7 separate regions of the Homo sapiens genome follow, and regions 1, 2, 3, 5, 6 and 7 are each linked to region 4. The links are contacts of gene promoters, found by promoter capture Hi-C in blood cells and fetal thymus (Javierre and others, 2016). All regions are on one chromosome and are shown on one strand. The core of a region is centred on a gene start or on the middle of the fragment in contact, and the rest is flanking DNA. Distances in the headings are between cores, read along the strand shown. Region 1 holds the start of DCTN1-AS1 (DCTN1 antisense RNA 1). Region 2 overlaps DCTN1 (dynactin subunit 1). Region 3 overlaps HTRA2 (HtrA serine peptidase 2). Region 4 holds the start of DUSP11 (dual specificity phosphatase 11). Region 5 has its middle 17 kb from the start of C2orf81. Region 6 overlaps TTC31 (tetratricopeptide repeat domain 31). Region 7 holds the start of LOXL3 (lysyl oxidase like 3).

Region 1 (2,700 bases), core at 70-2,569, 610 kb after region 4:
TTTCCTCTCCAATGATATTAAATACCACTAAAATATCTAGAAAAATGAGAAGAGAGGAGGGGAAAAATCTCTGTGTCTGATAAATAATAATCTCTGTGTCTGCCAATAGTCTTAGAGAAATTTCAGGAAATTATAGGAAAATAAGATTTTGGAGAATGAAAAAGGAGAAAGTGAGGAGGAAAAGCCTCTTTTCCACCTCTACCATTTCTCCCCTGTCTGAACCATTTCTACCTTGTTTTTACTGGCACCCCAGCATCCTTTGATACCTTGATCTCCTCTTGTCTCACCTTATCAAACCTTGATCCTGGGCTAACCCAACTGTCTGCTTTCCCTGCTTTCCCACTCCTAGAGGAGCTTGTCTGAAACCCAGGCAGTCTGACAGCAAGGCAAAACTATACATCTCTGAAAGCACTAGTAAGGAAGAGATAAACGTGGACCTAAGTCCTTCAGGAGTCAGAAAGGAAAAGGTCTGCTTACTGAGTGGTAAATGGAGGCTGGGAGACTGGAAGCTTGGAAAGCTGGATTCCAGATATTCACAGGACCCCAGAAGACAACGTACACAGAGCTTTTTGTTCCTAGGTCCTACTCAGTATCTGCCTTGCGGATTTCATAGATAAGGCCTACACACTCAACGGACTTCCTTCCCTTCTCCAGCTCCTCATTACCCTAAAAAAACGTCTACAAACCCACTCCCACTCTGAATGCAGCTCTACTCCATCTCAAAATGTCCCCTTTCCCCAGAAATATCCAGTGACTTCCAGGCCCACCTCCAAGGGCCCAGACCTCTAAAAGTCAAGAAGAAAAGCTATGCTATATGCTTCACTTATCTTCAATATAGGAACTTCTGCAAGAAGGCAAGAGGCACTCAGCCCTGCACTCAAGAACCTCAATCCTCTCAGTGGTATCAGAAGTCCTACTTAGGCTGTTCGAAGTTCCTGCTGATTCCTCCCCCTGAATCAACCAGCAAGTTCCTGGCACTAGGACCCTGTAGACAGGGAACCCTGAGCCTGCGCTCTAAAGAGAGAGATGCACCATTTCACAACTTCAGCAAAAGCCAAAGCAGCCAACAAAGCCACAGCCCTATCGGCTGTACTGGGCTCTGCCTTTTGGGCAGCTCGCCGGCCACTCCCCAAAAGCAGAGCATTCCATCCTTTCTCTTTTTAAACCCACGTCATCATCTGATCATAATGGAAATCAATCTCCTCAAACCACCATGCAAAGGCGTATCCATGGCAACCTCAAAAGGAAGGACACAGAGATGATGCTTCAGTGGCTGCAGCAGGAAAAGGTAAGTCCGTTTCTCTTCCATCCACGCCATCCCATCACTCTCTCCTTTCACTCAAGTCAGGTATACAGCTTACCTACAAATTGTATCTGTCACACAAACTGAGAAAACACATAAGGTGAGTTAATAATCATTATGTTATTATATAAGGTTTTAGATCTGCCTGTCTCTCTGCCAAGAAAAAATTCTCCTTTTCTAGGTGATAGGAACAGGGACAAGGTCTCTCTTCTTATTCACCTCTCAGATGACACAATCTCAGCCCACAATACCTGACAAATCACTATCGGTCACTTGTCTTTCTAGTCAGGATGCTGGAAAAATCACTCAAGAATATCCGAGTTTCCCTATGTAGTTGTCAAAAGCTGACAGCAACAGTGATCCCACTGTCCTGCCCCCTCCATGCCACCATCATGCCCACAAACTGGCATGGTAAGATTCCCTCCTTAGCAACCCTAGACTCTAGGCTCTCAAGGTTCAGAAACCGGGAGTTGGGATTAAATTTCTGTCTTCTCTGATGCCTCAGGAAAAGGAATCCATTTCTGCAGACGTAAGAGATTCATCAAATACAAGCGCTACTAATCCTCTATGCCTCAATTTCCTCTTCTGGAAGAAAGGGATAATAACAATAACTTTCTAACAGGATTGTTGTAAAAATCACATGAGAATGCCTGAAAAGCACTTAGAACAGTGCCTTGTATAAAGCACTCAATAAATGTCAGCCATTATTATTATGAGAAAGATGAAGGGGAGGCTTATAGTGTAGGATTTCAGTTCAGAGGGTACTCAACACTCTTGGAGCTTATTTCAGTTCCACTGTCTTCCTCTTTCCTCTTAACAGTTATTTCAAGCTTCCTTTACATTTTCAAGTCCTTACTCCCACCCAAGCCAACACCAGCATTCCCACCTCTCAGCAGATAACCTTGCTGAAAAAGAAAACTGGCCCTATTAGGTAAGAATTTCTTTGAAAATTTAGATATATCTGCATGCATATGTCATTATCTCTTTCTTCCTAAATTCCTTCCTTTCTTCCAACATTCCTCTTTAAAGAAAATGGTATCCCCTTCTTTTCAGGGCCCACCCCTTCCCCTCTCCTCTGAGGACTTGATTTAGCAATCGTCTTTTCTCTTGTGTCTTCATTGCACCCTGTCTACTGGATCTTACATGGCATCAGAAAACCCATAAACAAGACTTCCATTCTAGGAAAAACAAGTCCCTGCTACCTCTTCCACAAGCTGCCACCATTCTGTATTCTTCCTTTCTCTGCTGAACTACTCAAAGTGAGTACACATTCTCTATCTTCACTTCCCATCTACTTCTCGATCCATTGCTATCTGGCTCCATCCCTACCACTCCACTGAAGCTGCTCACACTTTAAAAGAGCCCTGGTGACCCCAATGTCCTACACAACCTCAAGG
Region 2 (2,700 bases), core at 30-2,529, 580 kb after region 4:
AGGAAGGAGGGAGCAGTTGAACAACAAATTATGGCAGAGGCCAGGGAATGGGAGTGGGGGAACCCGGGTCAAGGTGAAGGGGCAGGACGCTGAAAGGGTGGGAGTGAAGCTGAACGGGGCAGGAAGAGCTTAACCCACGTTTCTACCTGGGGGCTGGCTGAGGTGGCTGTGCATCGGGCAGAGCGGCACCAGAGGGCTGAGGGTCGAAGGGGACAGCAGGGGAAAGGAGTGCTTAGGAGATGAGGCGACTGTGAAGCTGGTGCAGCTGCTCCTGGGTCAGCACCAGCCGGTGTCGCTGTCCAAAACCAGCCGCACATGAGAAGGTCACTTTGCCCATGTAGACTGTGTCATCCTGCTGCTCCTCCTTGGCCTGGTGGTTGATGAGGAGAAAAAGACTCCAGGTCAGGGGCTCACTTGAGCTGTGGGCCACTGAAGGGGTCCCTGAGCACTGAGACCAAGGCAGCTCCTGGGTGACTAGGGCTTCTGAGATCCTGGGCTATTGTGACCACATTTTTCAAATAAGAATGGGGATACATAATCTGACAAGGGAGTTTTGAGGCCCTCCTGGTGTCAAAAGTCACGGAAGGTGTTTAGGTGCTAAAATATTGGAATTTCAAAGCACTGTAAGCACTTCTGAGTTACTTGTAAGTAAAATTTGGCCAGATAACCCAAGGTATGCAGTTGTTAGACCTGAGACTCCAAAGGCCTCCTCCAATTCTGGAGGAGAGGGGGGCCCGCCTGAGCTCTCCACACTGTCCCATCCTCCACCCCATGCTCCCCCTCACCCTGAGGAAGGCTGATGAAGGGAAGGTGGCAAAGTCAGTGGGTACTGTGGCTCCAGGGCGCTGAGATACTGTCTCCTTGAGGACCTCATCCTAGGGAAGGGGAGAGGAAGACAAGGGTTCATTTATGGGACCCCCACAGGCTAGCACAAGACCACGTGGTTTCACAGAGACACTAATACCAGGGGGGCAGGGACTTAGTCCTCTATATCAACATACTTTTGCTCTCATCTCCAACCCCATCCCCACACCAGCACTCCTCCTTACTTTGCAAGTCCTCATCCTGTAAGGCCCAACTCACATTCTACCGCTCTTGGGAAGCCATGCCCAACCGTTCTACCCCACAATGATCTCAGCGCTGATGGAAGCTAAAGCCTGAACCAGTCACTCTAAAGATTACCCTAGCTTATCCATTTTGTTATGAGAATCTGTCTTCTGTTTGCACTGAGACAGTGAGCTTCCAAGGCAAGAACCCTGCCTTCCCTTCCATCTCCTCCCCAATTGCTGTCTAGCACAGGGCTGGGCTCAGAGGAACTCCACAAGTGCCTGGCTCCACCAGTTTATGCTGTGAAGTGAGCTCTGCCTGGCAAACTGAGCTGACCTTGAGCTTCTCGACGGTGTCACTCAGGGACTTAAGCTGAGCCACTTGCTCCATAAGTTGGGCCGACGGGCTCTTGGCAGCTGTGGGGAGAGAAAGCTGGTGAGGCCCACCAAGGCGCAGGCAGGCAGTTCTACTGGATTAAGGGTTAGGGGTGCAGGTATAAGACTCTCTAACAGAACAAGTACTTGAGAGAGAGTGGGTGAATCAAACAAACTGAACAGTGAAGCCAAAGAACACTGCTGGGAAGAGCTTCTGTGGTGGGGGAACCACCTGAGCAGGGGCTAAATCCCTGGGCCAAGTGGAGGGGGCAGTTTTATTCATCTTGGGGGTTGGCAGGTACATACCAGGGCTGGTGCGAGTGATGTCTACTACGTGCGTGTGTGTGCTCAATTGATTCAATGTCTCCAGCAGCTGGCTGGTCTTACGATACAGCGCTCCAGCTGGTAACTCACTGCCAGGGCCCTCATGGGATAGCTTTGCAACATGCAGAGGGGGCAGGGATGCCAAGGATGCCTTCATCTGGGCTCCCTGTGGATGAAAAAAGAAGGATAGTGGTAAGAGGTGCTAGGAGGCCCCTGTCATCTATCATCAATGGGGCAAATATGCTCCATCTCCCATCCCAGTCCTCCCCGTGGCTCCCTCACCTTGAGGATGCTGTTCTCATGCTGGAGCTGGGAGATGTGCAGCCTCATGGCAGAGATCTGCTGAAGCAGCAGTGGTGAGTCCTTCACCAGCCCTGGGCCTGGCACAGACCCTGGAGCCTGCCCAGGGATGGCTCCTGTGGGGACCATAAAAAATCTCATCAGCCCCAAGTGGAAAGGGTTGAAAATTGGGCTCCATTCCTACTCTTCCCCTTTCCTCATCCCCCCATCACCCATCTCCAGTCCTGGCTTCCCCCTCCACCCTGCTCCCTTAGCTCCAACTCCCACCAGCCTGGTAACCCCCGGCCAGAGTGGGTCTCTACCTCGCTGCTGTTCTTCTGTGCTCGGGATAGCCCATGGGGGAGCAGGAAAAGAGGAGAGAGGAGTTAGGTGATTTGGGGGTTACGGGGACACACCAGAGGAATCCTGGACACAACCTGCAGGAAAACCCTTTTCCTAATCATCATACTTTCTCTAACAAGACTCTCTGCCACCTATCTTTGGGGACGAGCAGATAAGTGTTAAAGAAAGACACCAAACAGGAGTGAGGCCACAAGACAGGGTACAATGTGTGAAGAACAGTGGCAAAGAGAGTGTGCACTGTACAAAGTACTTGGAACATGAGGCTGTTCCTGCCTCCCTGTCTCAGATGCCATCTCCAAGAAGGGCACGGAGA
Region 3 (2,700 bases), core at 45-2,544, 750 kb after region 4:
TAGGCTGCAAAAATGTGGCCACTTATTCATGGGCTGAGAAAGAAGAGAATTTGGAGAAAGTACCTACATCCTGGTATGCCCCCAGACTTAGAATCCCCAGATCTCTTTCATGTTTTCTCCTTGTCCTACAGTTTGGAAACTCTGGAGGTCCCCTGGTTAACCTGGTGAGTGAGACATCCTTCCTTCCAAGAATCCCTGCCCCAGGTCAGTGTGGGAAGGGTAGGTTTCCCCTAATTCAAGGATGTTTGGTCAAGTTTCTGAGCAGTTCTTTGTTGGCTATCTCTCAATATCCAACCAGATCTCCCCAACACTTGCTGGTACTTTTGTTCGGGTGCCCCCATCCCCTACTATTTGTTTAGGCTAGGGAACTGGGGGCTGTATCCCTGCAGGATGGGGAGGTGATTGGAGTGAACACCATGAAGGTCACAGCTGGAATCTCCTTTGCCATCCCTTCTGATCGTCTTCGAGAGTTTCTGCATCGTGGGGAAAAGAAGAGTGAGCCTGCCTTATGGGGAAACGGGTTCCTTTAATGTGGTGGAAATAGGGGAAGGGCATTCAGTGGGACTTCCTGGAGGGTGGTCTACTGGGAGAAGAGGGCAGGGAAGGAAGGATGTAGCTGGGTGGGGCTCATTTGTCCCTCTGTCACAGATTCCTCCTCCGGAATCAGTGGGTCCCAGCGGCGCTACATTGGGGTGATGATGCTGACCCTGAGTCCCAGGTATGAGCTTTAGGGACAGTGACATGTAATGTGACCAGTGTAATCAGAGGGGGGCACCTCTATTGAGCTTTGTTCTCATTTCTGTCTTTATCTAAGATGAACTGTGTCACACTTGAAATAATCACAAGAGCTGTCTCCCTTCATCATCTTGACTTTCTTATCCCACTCCACTTTGTACACCTGTCACCAGATTGATTTCATCCTGTTACTGCTTTGATTTCAAGCCTTCAATCCATTAACTTGGCATTTAAGGGCCATTTTCCATCTGTCTGTAAATCAACTTTCTAGACCTGGCTGTAATACCTTCCTATATGAATACTCAGCCAACCTGATTTCCTACTCCCATGTTTTTTATTTATGCTGTTCTTGTTTTATATGGTTAATATCAGATCCATCCTTTTAGGCTCAACTTAAGTTCTTTCCCCTTAAAGCTTCTCTTAGTATTCTAGAATGACATTAGTGCTATTGATTTAACACTGTTTGTCATTTGGTGCCCTCATGTGGTGTACATCTTTTATGTACATGTTGCACTTTATTGCTAGAAGACAGAAAGTGAGTTGCCATTGTATTTTGTAGTACCTAGCCCATGTCCTGTCCATATATTTATCAATGTGTTGATGAGAGACTTGAGGTGGAACTCAGGATGGGGAGAATGCCTGGGTTTGGCTAATAGGGTGATCTGTGTACTTTCAGCATCCTTGCTGAACTACAGCTTCGAGAACCAAGCTTTCCCGATGTTCAGCATGGTGTACTCATCCATAAAGTCATCCTGGGCTCCCCTGCACACCGGTGAGGGAGAGGCTGCAGTGTGATATGGGGATGGGCAAGGTGTGCATGTGTCCTTGAACTAGGCTTTGTACTCCTTCCTTTCTCTCTGTCCATTTTTCTCTATAGGGCTGGTCTGCGGCCTGGTGATGTGATTTTGGCCATTGGGGAGCAGATGGTACAAAATGCTGAAGATGTTTATGAAGCTGTTCGAACCCAATCCCAGTTGGCAGTGCAGATCCGGCGGGGACGAGAAACACTGACCTTATATGTGACCCCTGAGGTCACAGAATGAATAGATCACCAAGAGTATGAGGCTCCTGCTCTGATTTCCTCCTTGCCTTTCTGGCTGAGGTTCTGAGGGCACCGAGACAGAGGGTTAAATGAACCAGTGGGGGCAGGTCCCTCCAACCACCAGCACTGACTCCTGGGCTCTGAAGAATCACAGAAACACTTTTTATATAAAATAAAATTATACCTAGCAACATATTATAGTAAAAAATGAGGTGGGAGGGCTGGATCTTTTCCCCCACCAAAAGGCTAGAGGTAAAGCTGTATCCCCCTAAACTTAGGGGAGATACTGGAGCTGACCATCCTGACCTCCTATTAAAGAAAATGAGCTGCTGCCATCTTTTGTGGGCAGTTAGTCAGGTGCTGCTCTTTGTGGTGTGGTGGGCTCTGGTCTGTTCTGCTCGGTGCTGGGCCTGGGAGCAAAGATTCCCATGCTTGGCTACAGATACTGACAGCTGGCCTCTGAAGGAGGGTGAAAACTTCTGCTTGACAGTTCCACATCCATAGTGCATGGTCTGATGAGTGCGGTTGCTGACATGGGTTTCTTGGTAAGCTCCTGAGGTAATGGCAGCCTCAGACCCCTGCCATTAGGGGCCAGTGGTGGTTTGCAGAGGGCAGTGGCACTTAGATAATCTGGTTGCTGGTCTGGCCAGGGTAGCGTTCAAACCTCCTGTTGGCCTCTTCACTGAAGGCATCACCTGCAGAGTGGACAGGCAATTTGGGAGGCGCCCTGCACAGAGGGAGGGAGATAGATGCACTGTGGAGAAGGGTGGGTAGAAGTGGAGGGACTGAGAGCTCTACAGGAAGGTGGGAAGATGGAGAAACAAGCTATGGAAAAGAGAATGAACGTCTTTCCCTCCCATCCCCTAATCTTCCTGGGTTGCTCTTCCCATCAAATACCAATGTGGCAGTTGTGCACCCAGATT
Region 4 (2,700 bases), core at 29-2,528:
GAAGAGGGACTGTGAACTTCACTTAATAATGCTAGGAACTGGCCGGGCGCGGTGGCTCACGTCTGTTAATCCCGGCAATTTGGGAGGCTGAGGCAGGTGGATCACCTGAGGTCAGGAGTTCGAGACCAGCCTGACCCACATGGTGAAACCCCATCTCTACTAAAAATACAAAAAAAATTAGCCGGGTGTGGTGGCGGGCGCCTGTAATCCCAGCAACTTGGGCGGCTGAGGGAGGAGAATCGCTTGAATCCGGGAGGCGGAGGTTGCAGTGAGCCGAGATTGGACCATTGCACTCCAGCCTGGCGGAGAAGAGCAAAAATCCATCCCAAAAACAAAAACAAAAAAACGGATTGGAAGAAAACAAACAGGAGATTCACTAATTAGAACCCCACTGCAATAAGTCAGGCAAGACCTGTATTAGGGTACTGACAGAAAGTGACAGTCAAAAGATAGTAGATAAAATGAAGAGGATTTATTGAGGTATGAGATGGTGGAGGATGGTCTCAAGGAGTAAAAACAGTTCAATGCACCTACGTGCAAAGTCTCAAAATTAATCATTTGTACGTATAAAGGAGTTATCTTTCAAATGAGGCCTGTTAGGAAGTAACAAAGTATGCTCTTTGTGATTTCTGGAAACAATACAAACCAACTTTCCATGTGAGATCTCAGGGCGCTACTACTGCTGGGTTCCTAACTCAAACCATTACACTTTCCGTGCCAACGTAACAAGGAATTGAGGAGGTTCCATTTTGGGAATTAAGGAGTGTCCCCAACAGTAACAGTCCCACCTTAAAGCAATCCTTCCGTATTTTACCTAAGAGCAATGGCCAGAACCTCCCTTTTACAAGAATATGGAGAAATCACAGGACATCACAGACATCGCCCCTTTCAGCTACAGCGGGTGGCGCAGAGGGTCAAAGCCTCAAAGCAAGCGGCGGACAAGTCAAGCTTGCGATGGCAACGGCGAGAGGCAGAGACCACAAACGATGAAGCCCAGACCCAGAAGCCACGAGCTGGAAAGGCCACGCCAAGGGACCAAGACATACTACCTTTCGGGGATGTGGTTTCCGCCCTTCTTCTTGGCTGAGGAGCGTCCTGAAAAGTCGCGTCTCCGGCCCCAGCCACTGCGGGGATGATGCCACTGGCTCATGTGGGTCCCAAGAAGCCGCCCACCCAATGCCAAGTCGGCCAAAAGCGCCAGTCCGGCGCCCTCAATGCCAGGATAAGACCCTAAACAGGAAAAGACTCGGCAGCCACCTACGCCGCGCTCCAGCGTCTCGCTATTGCGCATGTGCCACCGCCGGTCGTGATGGCGTAGCCACGCTGGCTTACTGAGACTCCTGATCTGTAAACAGGACTTTGGTGGCTACAGCGCCCTCTTTAGCCAGAGGCCAGTAGCACAGGTCAATAAGGGCGTGTATGCACCCTTCAGAATTCAAACAGTGAGGCACAGGGAAGTCCCTCTGCCCGATCCGCCCCACGCCCCGGTTCCTTGTGTGTTCTTCTAGATATTTACCAGCGCTTACATTCACATTTTGCATATTTTGTATACATATTTACTTTCACATATATGTATATCCTCTATTTTTATACAAAAGGAGTAACTGTACATATTCTACAGTATACCTTAAACACTGATTATCCCAGTCAATTTATGCATACATAGATTCTATTTTTAATGGCTATAGGCAATTTACTTGCTTATGAGTAACATAATTAAAAGTACCATAACGTATTTAGCCAGTTCAATATTAATGGACCTTTAGTTGTTTTCAGGTTCTTTTCAAATCTTGTTACAGACAATGCTGCAATGTGAACATCCTTATACATATATACAACTATATCTAAATTCCTAGAAGTAGAATGTCTGGAATGAAACACATACAAACTTAAAATTTGGAAAGATACTACCTAATTACCCTCCAAAAATAATGTAGAAACATACACTCCCATCAAAGCCAAACTTTTATTGGGTTCCTATCACATACCAGGTATCATGCTAGAGGTGGACAGAATGTATTTAAGTTTTAGCAAATACAAAAAATAACTGAGAGTGGAGCTCAAGTCCAAGGTTTCCACACAGTCTCAAGCATAAAGATCTGTACCCGTTAGAAAAACGTTCAATTCTGCTAAAAGTGGAACTACAAAGGACAGCATACCCTATAGCAGCTTTGAAAATAGAATAGAGTACTAAATTCCAGATTAAACTGTAAGTAATTATGATTGCAGACTTTTTTTTTTTTTTTTTGAGACCCAGTCTCACTCTGCCACCAGGCTGGAGTGCAGTGGTGCCATCTCAGCTCACTGCAACCTCCGCCTCCCGGGTTCAAGCAATTCTCCCTGCCTCAACCTCCTGAGTAGCTGGGACTACAGGTGCATGCCACGACTCCCAGCCAATTTTTTGTATTTTAGTAGAGACAGGGTTTCTCCATGTTGGCCAGGATGGTCTCGATGTCTTGACCTCATGATCAGCACTCCTCGACCTCCGAAAGTGCTGGGATTACAGGCTTGAGCCACCGCACCTGGCCAATGGCAGATTTTTGAAAGTAATTTTTACTTCTTAGTTTCTAATTTATGAAAGTAACTTACATATATTTTTAGTAATCTTTGCAACCATTTCAGAGCTGGGTAAACCAAGGATAAGAAAGGTCAGAGCTATTGAATAAATGAATATTAATAAAGCTAGACTGCTAGCTTTAT
Region 5 (2,700 bases), core at 5-2,504, 620 kb after region 4:
TGATACCCCAACATTAAGGTGAAATAAATACATCCTCCAACAAATAAAACTGAGGAAGTTTATTATATTAGATCTTATATTAGTTTTCTATTGCTACATAACAAATTACTATAAATTCAGTGGGTGAAGCAACATAGGTCAGGCATGATGGCTCATGCCTGTGATCCCACCACTTTGGAGGCCAAGGCAAGAGGATCCTGTGAGGCCAGCAATTTGAGACCAGCCTGGGCAACATAACAAGAATCCCCATCTCTATAAAAGAAAAAAAAATTTAATTCTAACTCGATTACCTCTGAAAAAATAAAAAATAAAAAATAATAATTAGCCAGAGTGGTGGCATGCTCCTGTAGTCCCAGTTACTTGGGAGGCAGAGAGGCAGAAGGATTGCTTGAGCCAGGAGTGTGAGGTTGCTGTGAGCTGTGATAGTGCCACTGCATTCCAGCTTGGGTGACAGAGAGAGAGCCTGTCTCTAAAAAATATAATAAATATGTTTATTTTTTAAAAAAACACATTTATTATCTCACAGTTTCTGTGGGTCGGGAGTCTGGGTACATGTTTGCTGGGTCCTCCACTCAGGAGGTCACCAGGCTGAAATCAAGAAGTCATCCAGGGTTGAAAGCTCATTGAAGTTCAGGGTCCTCTTTCAAGCTCACTGGTTATTGGCAGAATTCAATTTGTTGTGACTATAGAACTGAGGCCTGGCTCCCAGAGGCCATCTGCCATCCCTGCCATGTGGCCCTCTCCACAGTGTAGCAATTTGCTTCTTTAAGGTAAAGGAGAGAATCTTTCTAACTTCTGTAAAGGCTTGAAGCCTTTTAAAGGGCTCACTTCATTAAGTCAGGTCCACCCAAAATAATCACCAATTTGATTAACTGATTAGAGACTTTAACTACATCAGAAAAATCCCTTATGTCAGGTAAATAACGTAATCACAGGAGAGAAATCCCATCATATTCACGAGTTCTGCTCAGACTTAAGGGGAAGGGGGATTTTATAGGGTACATAAACAAAAGATGAGAACTTTGGAGGCCATCTTAGAATTCTGTCTACCACAAATCCTCACTAAAGTAACTTTCTTTTGAGAGAGAAAGAGAGGGTCTCACTCTGTCACCTAAGCTGGAGTGCAATGACGTGATCACAGCTCACTGCAGACTTGACCTCCTGGGCTCAGGTGATTCTCCCACCTCAGCCTCCTGAATAGCTGGGACTACAGGAACGTGCCACCACACTCGGCTAATTTTTGCATTTTTGAGAGACGGGGTTTCACCATGTTGCCCAGGCTGGTCTCAAACTCCTGTCCTCAAGCAATCCACCCGCTTCAGTCTCCCAAAGTGGTGGGATTACAGGCATGAGCCACTAAGCCTGGCCTAAAGTAACTTCTAAAGATGTACTTCAGGTAGAAGGAAAATAACACAAGATGGAAGATCTGAGATACAAGAAAGAAGAGCAAGCAATATTAAGTATTAACATTAAACATATGAGCAAACCTATACAAGTATCACCTATTTAAAATAATATCTGATTTGTGGCCAGGCATGGTGGCTCACACCTGTAATCCCAGCACTTTGGGAGGCCAAGGTGGGCGGATCACCTGAGGTCAGGAGTTCGAGACCAGCCTCAGCATGGAGATACCCTGTCTCTACTAAAAATACAAAAAAAAAAAAAAAATTAGCCAGGCCTGGTGGTGCATGCCTGTAATCCCAGCTACTCGGGATTACTGAGGCAGGAGAATTGCGTGAACCTGGGAGGCGGAGGTTGCAGTGAGCTGAGATTGCGCCATTGCACTCCAGCCTGGGCAACAAGAGCGAAACTCAGTCTCAAAAAAAAAAAATAATAATAATAATAATAATATCTGATTTGTGAGATTAATAAAATAGTAGAATTAAAATATAGGGTTACAAAAATGTATAAATTCAAAGAGAATTATTAATGTTAAAGAACTCTAAAATCTATGAATTGTTTTAAAGAAGAATGAAGATATTGATTAAAGACATTAAGTTAAATATGTAGATTAAAAATTCTAGGCCGGGCGTGGTGGCTCATGCCTGTAATCCCAGCTACTCGGGAGGCTGAGGCAGGAGAATTGCTTGAGCCCGGGAGGCGGAGGTTGCAGTGAGCCTAGATCGCACCACTGCACTCCACCCTGGGCGACAGAGAGAGACTCTGTCTCAAAAAAAAAAAAAAAAGTACTCATAACAACAAAACTAGGCAGTTTCCACATAAATAAGGAAAAATACAGGCCAATCTCCTTTACTATTTTTTCTTTTTTCTATTTATTTATTTGGGCCAATCTCCTTTATGAACATAGTAAAAAGTTTTAAAAAAAATGAGCAGGCTGTTTAGCAATGCATAAAAAAGGTAACACTATTACAAAGTTGGGTTTATTCCAGAAATGTAAGGTTGTTTCAATACTAGAAAATCTATTAAAGTTTTCTAGAAAAAGAAATATAAGTTGGAATAGTTACAAAGGAAGAAATAAAACTGTGATTATTCCTGGATGATGTGATTTTCCATGTAGAAAAACCAAGAGAATCTATGGACGACTTATTAGAACTAGATAACTTAATAAAGTTGTTTGATATAAGATCAATATGAGGCAGGAGAGGTAGTCAAGGAAGTGACCAAGTAGTCAAGGCAGCAACAGTGGTGACTGTACAATCAACACAATAAACCTCAGCATATGCATTGTAACTGAGCTCA
Region 6 (2,700 bases), core at 42-2,541, 710 kb after region 4:
GGAGGCAGAGATAATTGGAGATGAAAGGGTCTGGGAAGGCTTTGAAGGGAGATAGAATTTGAACTGGACCTTGAAGGTGAGGCAAGATGTGAGAAAGAAGCTCAAGAGTTAGGAGGGATTGGAGAGCAGCTGGGGGAAGGCCCCAAGGCTGGAGGGAGCCTGGTGGTGGGAGGGAGGACAGCAGTGAAGCAGGGGAGGATTAAAAGGAGGGCTGGAAAGGTCAGCCTGGGAGCCTTTTGGAAGGCTCTGAATCGTAGGCTGAGGAATTAGGTTCAACTCTGCCTATGGCCTTGGCAGTGGGGGATTATTGGATGTCCCTGAGTAGGGAAGTAATTTCTTAGAGCTTAGTTTTGTGGAGAAACAGATGAGGTGCAGAGGAGCGGCCAGCCAGGAGCTGCTGTACTTGTTTAGGTGTGAGCTAGCCTCAGGGTGGGTTATGTGGAGCTGTTCATACTGCAGATATGACAGGGGGCCTAGCTGGAAGAGCAGGTGGGAGGGCTTCATTCCAGGGGCCTCAGTGTGGCTAACTCAGGTTGAGGAGAGAAGATCCTGGATGGTAGAGGAGGCCAGGTTGAATACCATACTCAACCCTTGGGAAGGCAGGAAAGCAGCGAGGGGAGGTGATTCACTACAATAGCTGGGGGCAGCAGATTTTGCGGTGCTGAGGAGGGAGAGGTCAGAGCCAGTGAGAGTCTCTGGGCTGGATAGCTGGTTGGTGGCTGCCATGGTGGAGAGATCAAGCCAGCGAAGCCCTTGCTCTCTCCAGGAACTGCCCCCAACACCAGCCTCCCCTCCCCTCCCCTCCCCTCCCAGGACATAGTGGATTTTCTTCGACGGCTTGTGGAGAGTGATCCCCAGGGCCTGCACCGGATCCATGTGGATGGGAGCAGCGGGCGGCTGCAGCTGTGGCACCATGGTGGGGAGTGCAGGGACCGGGCCCAGGGATCGAGGCTGGTACCCTGGGAGGGCTGACCCTCAGATGCACCCCGCTCTCATGTCCTTTCTTTCCTGTCTCTTTCTCCCTCCTGACAGATTACCTCCTGGGCCACTTGGATGATGAAGGGAAATCAACTGGACAGAGTGACAGGGGCAAGGGGGCTGAGGGACTGGGCACCTACTGTGGTCTCCGCAAGTCCTTCCTGTATCCTCCCCAAGAGTCTGAGCCCTGCCCTCAAAGCCCCTCTGCCTCTGCCACCTTCCCCAGTGTCTCAGACAGCCTGCTTCAGGTGGCCATGCCCCAGAAGCTCCTGGTGACAGAAGAGGTGAGATTCTCAGGAGAGGGCTTTGCCGTCCCCCAGGGTTCTTTCAATCCCTGTATCCCCATCCCTATATTCTCCCCTAATTGGTACCTTTCAAGATCCTTCTATACTGCCTGCCCCCTTTCATGTTTGCTCTCCATTTCCCTGTTTCTCTCTTTTTCTGTCACCTGCCCTTCGTCCTTCAGGAAGCCAATCGCCTGGCTGAGGAGCTGGTGGCTGAGGAGGAGCGCATGAAACAGAAAGCAGAGAAAAAGCGACTCAAGAAGAAGGTGGCTAGAGCATGGCTGGAGGGTGCAGGGGAGCCAAAGGGATTTGGGAGAGGGAAAGAGGAAACTTTGTGGGAACAGGAGAGAGCTCAAGATGGCCTGCAGTGGACTCTCTTGCCAGGAGGACACAAGGGGCCCAGGGACTGGGGGGTCTCTCACAGGCCATCTGGTGCAGTGGTTCTGGAATCCTACTGTGCTGCCTAGGTAGGAATCTGCCTCCTTACATGAGGCCTCTTGCTGGTGCCTCTCTTGTCTGCTTTTTCACCTGCAAAATGAGGATAATAATGATGCCTGTCTCATAGAGCTGCAAAGATGGAATGCGAAATCTTAGCCCAGCACACGACATACAGTAAGTGTTCAAAATACATCATTGTTACCATTACTATTGCAGCGTCAAAAGGAACGGAAGCGACAGGAGCGTTTGGAGCAGTACTGTGGGGAGCCCAAGGTGAGTATCTAGGGCAGGTACTAAGAGCACCAAGTGCCAGGAAGGTGAGGGCCAAGAAAGCAGGCAGCTCAAGGTGATCCCAACTCTGTACCTGTCTATCTTTCTTCCAGGCCAGCACTACCTCAGATGGAGATGAGAGCCCCCCATCCAGCCCTGGAAACCCAGTTCAGGGACAGTGTGGTGAAGAAGAGGTGAGAGCCCCTTTTTTCCCTTCTTGGTCTCTGCTCATTTTCCTCCTCCTCCTCCAGAATGTACTTCATCCCCACCCCCTCCCTAACTTTCCATTTTGTTCACAGGACTCACTGGATCTATCTAGCACTTTTGTGTCTCTGGCTTTGCGCAAGGTTGGGGATTGGCCCCTCAGTGCCCGCAGAGAGAAGGGACTGAACCAGGAGCCCCAAGGCAGGGGTCTGGCCCTCCAGAAGATGGGTCAAGAGGAAGAGAGCCCTCCAAGAGAGGAGAGGCCCCAGCAGAGTCCAAAGGTACAGGTGAGGTGGCTGAAGAACCTTATTCAGCTGGAACCGTGGAAGGGGCACAAGGAGCTGCTGGGGAGGCACAGGGTCTAAGGATTGACACAGGGTCCAGTGGGAGTTCTCTGGCTCTAGGGTCAAGAGACCTACAGTCAGGCCCCATCACTGTCACCATGACCCCGGGTGGTTTCCTGTCTAGGAAGATAGGGCTGATACCATCTTGTAGGGCTGTCATGAGGATTACATGAGTTGGGTAA
Region 7 (2,700 bases), core at 69-2,568, 770 kb after region 4:
CCCAACCCAAACAATCAATCCAACAAGGCAGCTTTGTTCTGGGTTGGGGACCCAGGGGCAGCGCCTCCCGGAGGAGCCCCCTCCCTTAGGGCGCTCCTGGCGGCCCTGTTCGAACACCCGTAGCCCCCGCCTCCGGTATGTGCCTCCTCCGTGTACTCTGTCTCACTTGCCCTTTGACAAGAATCAAACTCTCAGTTGGGTGGCTTCCCCTCGACTCCATCCCACACCACCCGTTTTCCCTGGTCCCTCCACATCCTCTCCATCCCCTACTCATTCCCTCTGCGGTTAGCGTGACTCCCCCTACCTTGGCCGAGCAGGACCCTAAGGGCTGGGAGAAGAGTGCTGGTCCTGGAGATCAGTCCTAGGACTTCCAAAAAAAAAAAAAAATGCTCGGCCAGGGGAGACTGGACCCCCCTCTCTCCCCCTTCTCCGTTCGTCCCTCCCACATCCCCCTGAGCCCTCCCACATTCCGCCTTCTCCTTCCATTCCTCCCGGCCAGTTCCCTCCTCTCCTCCTCTGGGTCCTCCCTCCCCGTGGAGCTGGCCACTGCCGCGCCCCCTCCCCCTCCCTGGCCCTCCCGGCTCGTTCAATGAAGCTTTCTCTTCCCGCGGCATGGAGGCCAGGCCTCTGCGGTCAGGGAGCTGACATGCAAGCGGCGGCCGGGCGGCGGGGCGGCCCCGGTGGTGGCGGGAAGCGGTTCAACCCCAGCCCTCCCTCCGAGTCCCGGGCCAGCGGAGTCTAAACAGCCCGGCTCGGGCGGGGCTGGGGGCGGGCCCGGCCAGGGTAAATAAAGCCCCGGAGGCCCGTGTGGGTCTCTCCGGTGCCCGGGGCGCTTTCGGGGTGATGTCATGGCTTTCACTCTGACGTCACCTTGGGCATATGACGTCACGCGCAGCCACCACGCCCAGAGGCCAGGGCCCTCGCGCCAAAACCGAGGACTTTCGGTGGAGCCACTGGCGCGCCCCCACGACGGCGGGTAGGGGCCTGGGGTGCTGCAGCTCCCGGCTAATCCGGGGGTCTCCACCATTCCTTCTCGCTCCTCTCCCTCACCCCACCGCGACCCCCCCAGCGGCTGCCGGCGGGGGCCGGGGAGGGGCGGAAACTCCTCCAGGGAACCCGGCCCCGCCTCCCGCCCCGCCTCCCGCCGCAGGGCCAGGAAGCGCGGAAGGAACCGCCGGGGGCCATGGACGGAGCAGTGATGGAAGGGCCGCTTTTTTTGCAGAGTCAGCGCTTTGGGACCAAGGTAGTCTGGCGCATGGATGCCGAACCTTATCCGGGCTAGTAGTGGGTGAGAGAGCCCAGAAACAGGGAGAGGTGGGCAGCGGGCTGGAGAGCGGCGCCGGGAGTTGGAGAGCCTGTGACTTTCCCGTGAAGTTGCTTTGCACACTCCCGGGAAGCGTCTGTAGTCTAGGGGTTCTGGTCCTGGGGAGACGGAGTGGCATCGTCCTTGGGAAACTTCGCCCCCAACCCCGTTTGGAAGCCCCAGATCCCAAATCGACTTGCGCCGCAACCTCCTTCCCCGTCGGGACCCGGGCCGCCTGCGCACGCCACTCCCTCTCGAGCACTCTCTCTCTCTCCCTAGAGGTGGAGGAAGACCTGGGCCGTGCTCTACCCGGCCAGTCCCCACGGCGTAGCGCGGCTCGAGTTCTTTGACCATAAGGGGTCGAGCTCTGGGGGTGGCCGAGGGAGCTCGCGCCGCCTGGACTGCAAAGTGATCCGTCTGGCTGAGTGTGTGAGTGTGGCCCCCGTCACCGTGGAGACCCCCCCTGAGCCCGGCGCCACTGCCTTCCGCCTGGACACTGCTCAGCGCTCGCACCTGCTGGCGGCCGACGCGCCGTCCAGTGCAGCCTGGGTGCAGACGCTGTGCCGAAACGCCTTTCCGGTGAGGAGCTGCGGCGATGCGGGGTGGGGGCAGTTACAGAGGCAGAGAAATGGGGCTGCCTCAGACCGACCCCCGCTCCCCGCTGAGGAAATTACGGGTTTCTCGATGCTCTCTACTACAGAAAGGCAGCTGGACTCTGGCGCCTACCGATAACCCACCTAAGCTTTCTGCCCTGGAGATGCTGGAGAACTCCTTGTACAGCCCTACCTGGGAAGGTAGACGCCTCAGAAGCCCGGGCAGGGATGGAGTGAAGAGGAGGAGGGCCGAGGGCCTTTGGGAAGTGGGTGGATACCCAGGGGCCCATGGGGAAGTAAGAAGTAGGAAGGCCCTGAGATCTGGCTTCCGAGTGAGTGCTTGGACACTATGCTCATGAGTCCTCTGGGTCCCCACTGCTGCCCCCGTCCCTCCCCCGCAGCTGTCTAATCGTGTATGCCTTCCAGGATCCCAATTCTGGGTAACGGTGCAGAGGACTGAGGCCGCCGAGCGCTGTGGCCTGCATGGCTCCTACGTGCTGAGGGTGGAGGCTGAAAGGCTGACTCTCCTGACCGTGGGGGCCCAGAGTCAGATACTGGAGCCACTCCTGTCCTGGCCCTACACTCTGTTGCGTCGCTATGGCCGGGACAAGGTGCAGGGGCTGTCCGGGAGGGCTTCCTGGGTTGGGCAGCTGTGGGAGGGGTGGGGCAGGACAGAAAGTGGGAAGCTCTGACCTTTGGATCCCCCTTTCTTGCCTACCCGGTGACCCCGCGTCTGTTCGCAGGTGGTCTCTTCTTTGTAGATACCCTAACTAGTGCAGGCGTGTGACTCACTTCCTCTGATGG

What was found. The method cuts DNA at HindIII sites, captures the fragments that hold promoters and counts their contacts. A CHiCAGO score of 5 or more calls a contact.
Region 1: a contact is called between a fragment that was not itself captured here and the fragment with the promoter of DUSP11 in region 4, in 4 of 17 cell types (neutrophils, naive CD8 T cells, total CD8 T cells and 1 more). The highest score is 7.4, in neutrophils.
Region 2: a contact is called between a fragment that was not itself captured here and the fragment with the promoter of DUSP11 in region 4, in 1 of 17 cell types (erythroblasts). The highest score is 8.1, in erythroblasts.
Region 3: a contact is called between a fragment that was not itself captured here and the fragment with the promoter of DUSP11 in region 4, in 8 of 17 cell types (fetal thymus, non-activated CD4 T cells, activated CD4 T cells and 5 more). The highest score is 16.2, in fetal thymus.
Region 5: a contact is called between a fragment that was not itself captured here and the fragment with the promoter of DUSP11 in region 4, in 3 of 17 cell types (neutrophils, fetal thymus and non-activated CD4 T cells). The highest score is 8.5, in neutrophils.
Region 6: a contact is called between a fragment that was not itself captured here and the fragment with the promoter of DUSP11 in region 4, in 1 of 17 cell types (naive CD8 T cells). The highest score is 6.1, in naive CD8 T cells.
Region 7: a contact is called between a fragment that was not itself captured here and the fragment with the promoter of DUSP11 in region 4, in 1 of 17 cell types (fetal thymus). The highest score is 8.0, in fetal thymus.

The regions. Positions count from the first base shown.
Region 1 is chr2:74,384,463-74,387,162 of GRCh38, forward strand. It overlaps DCTN1-AS1 (DCTN1 antisense RNA 1), which reads left to right and starts at 1,041. Exons shown (of 3, transcript NR_158174.1): 1 at 1,041-1,288. It also overlaps a transcript of DCTN1 not described here. The HindIII fragment of the contact is 1,624 bases long and covers 508-2,131 here.
Region 2 is chr2:74,361,267-74,363,966 of GRCh38, forward strand. DCTN1 (dynactin subunit 1) reads right to left here. Exons shown (of 32, transcript NM_004082.5): 27 at 2,348-2,362; 28 at 2,028-2,161; 29 at 1,728-1,911; 30 at 1,384-1,463; 31 at 786-875; 32 at 1-370. The coding sequence ends at 233. Among named protein-coding and RNA genes, the nearest start is that of DCTN1, 18 kb to the right of the region's middle. The HindIII fragment of the contact is 2,943 bases long and covers 1-2,700 here.
Region 3 is chr2:74,531,208-74,533,907 of GRCh38, forward strand. HTRA2 (HtrA serine peptidase 2) reads left to right here. Exons shown (of 8, transcript NM_013247.5): 4 at 132-164; 5 at 390-495; 6 at 649-718; 7 at 1,412-1,507; 8 at 1,613-2,112. The coding sequence ends at 1,778. It overlaps LOXL3 (lysyl oxidase like 3), which reads right to left. Exons shown (of 14, transcript NM_032603.5): 13 at 2,675-2,700; 14 at 1,051-2,472. The coding sequence ends at 2,399. Among named protein-coding and RNA genes, the nearest start is that of HTRA2, 2.6 kb to the left of the region's middle. The HindIII fragment of the contact is 295 bases long and covers 1,148-1,442 here.
Region 4 is chr2:73,778,825-73,781,524 of GRCh38, forward strand. It overlaps DUSP11 (dual specificity phosphatase 11), which reads right to left and starts at 1,279. Exons shown (of 9, transcript NM_003584.3): 1 at 1,050-1,279. The coding sequence starts at 1,150. RefSeq lists enhancers at 771-920, 1,051-1,100, 1,181-1,250. The HindIII fragment of the contact is 6,659 bases long and covers 947-2,700 here.
Region 5 is chr2:74,403,436-74,406,135 of GRCh38, forward strand. No RefSeq gene overlaps it. Among named protein-coding and RNA genes, the nearest start is that of C2orf81, 17 kb to the right of the region's middle. The HindIII fragment of the contact is 9,534 bases long and covers 1-2,700 here.
Region 6 is chr2:74,489,212-74,491,911 of GRCh38, forward strand. TTC31 (tetratricopeptide repeat domain 31) reads left to right here. Exons shown (of 13, transcript NM_022492.6): 3 at 814-916; 4 at 1,033-1,262; 5 at 1,445-1,528; 6 at 1,917-1,973; 7 at 2,084-2,164; 8 at 2,270-2,461. Among named protein-coding and RNA genes, the nearest start is that of TTC31, 7.5 kb to the left of the region's middle. The HindIII fragment of the contact is 4,043 bases long and covers 1-2,700 here.
Region 7 is chr2:74,553,572-74,556,271 of GRCh38, forward strand. LOXL3 (lysyl oxidase like 3) reads right to left here and starts at 371. Exons shown (of 14, transcript NM_032603.5): 1 at 305-371. DOK1 (docking protein 1) reads left to right here and starts at 1,149. Exons shown (of 5, transcript NM_001381.5): 1 at 1,149-1,243; 2 at 1,583-1,882; 3 at 2,004-2,097; 4 at 2,323-2,507. The coding sequence starts at 1,184. RefSeq lists a silencer at 491-1,240 and enhancers at 1,249-1,766, 1,391-1,450. The HindIII fragment of the contact is 1,450 bases long and covers 594-2,043 here.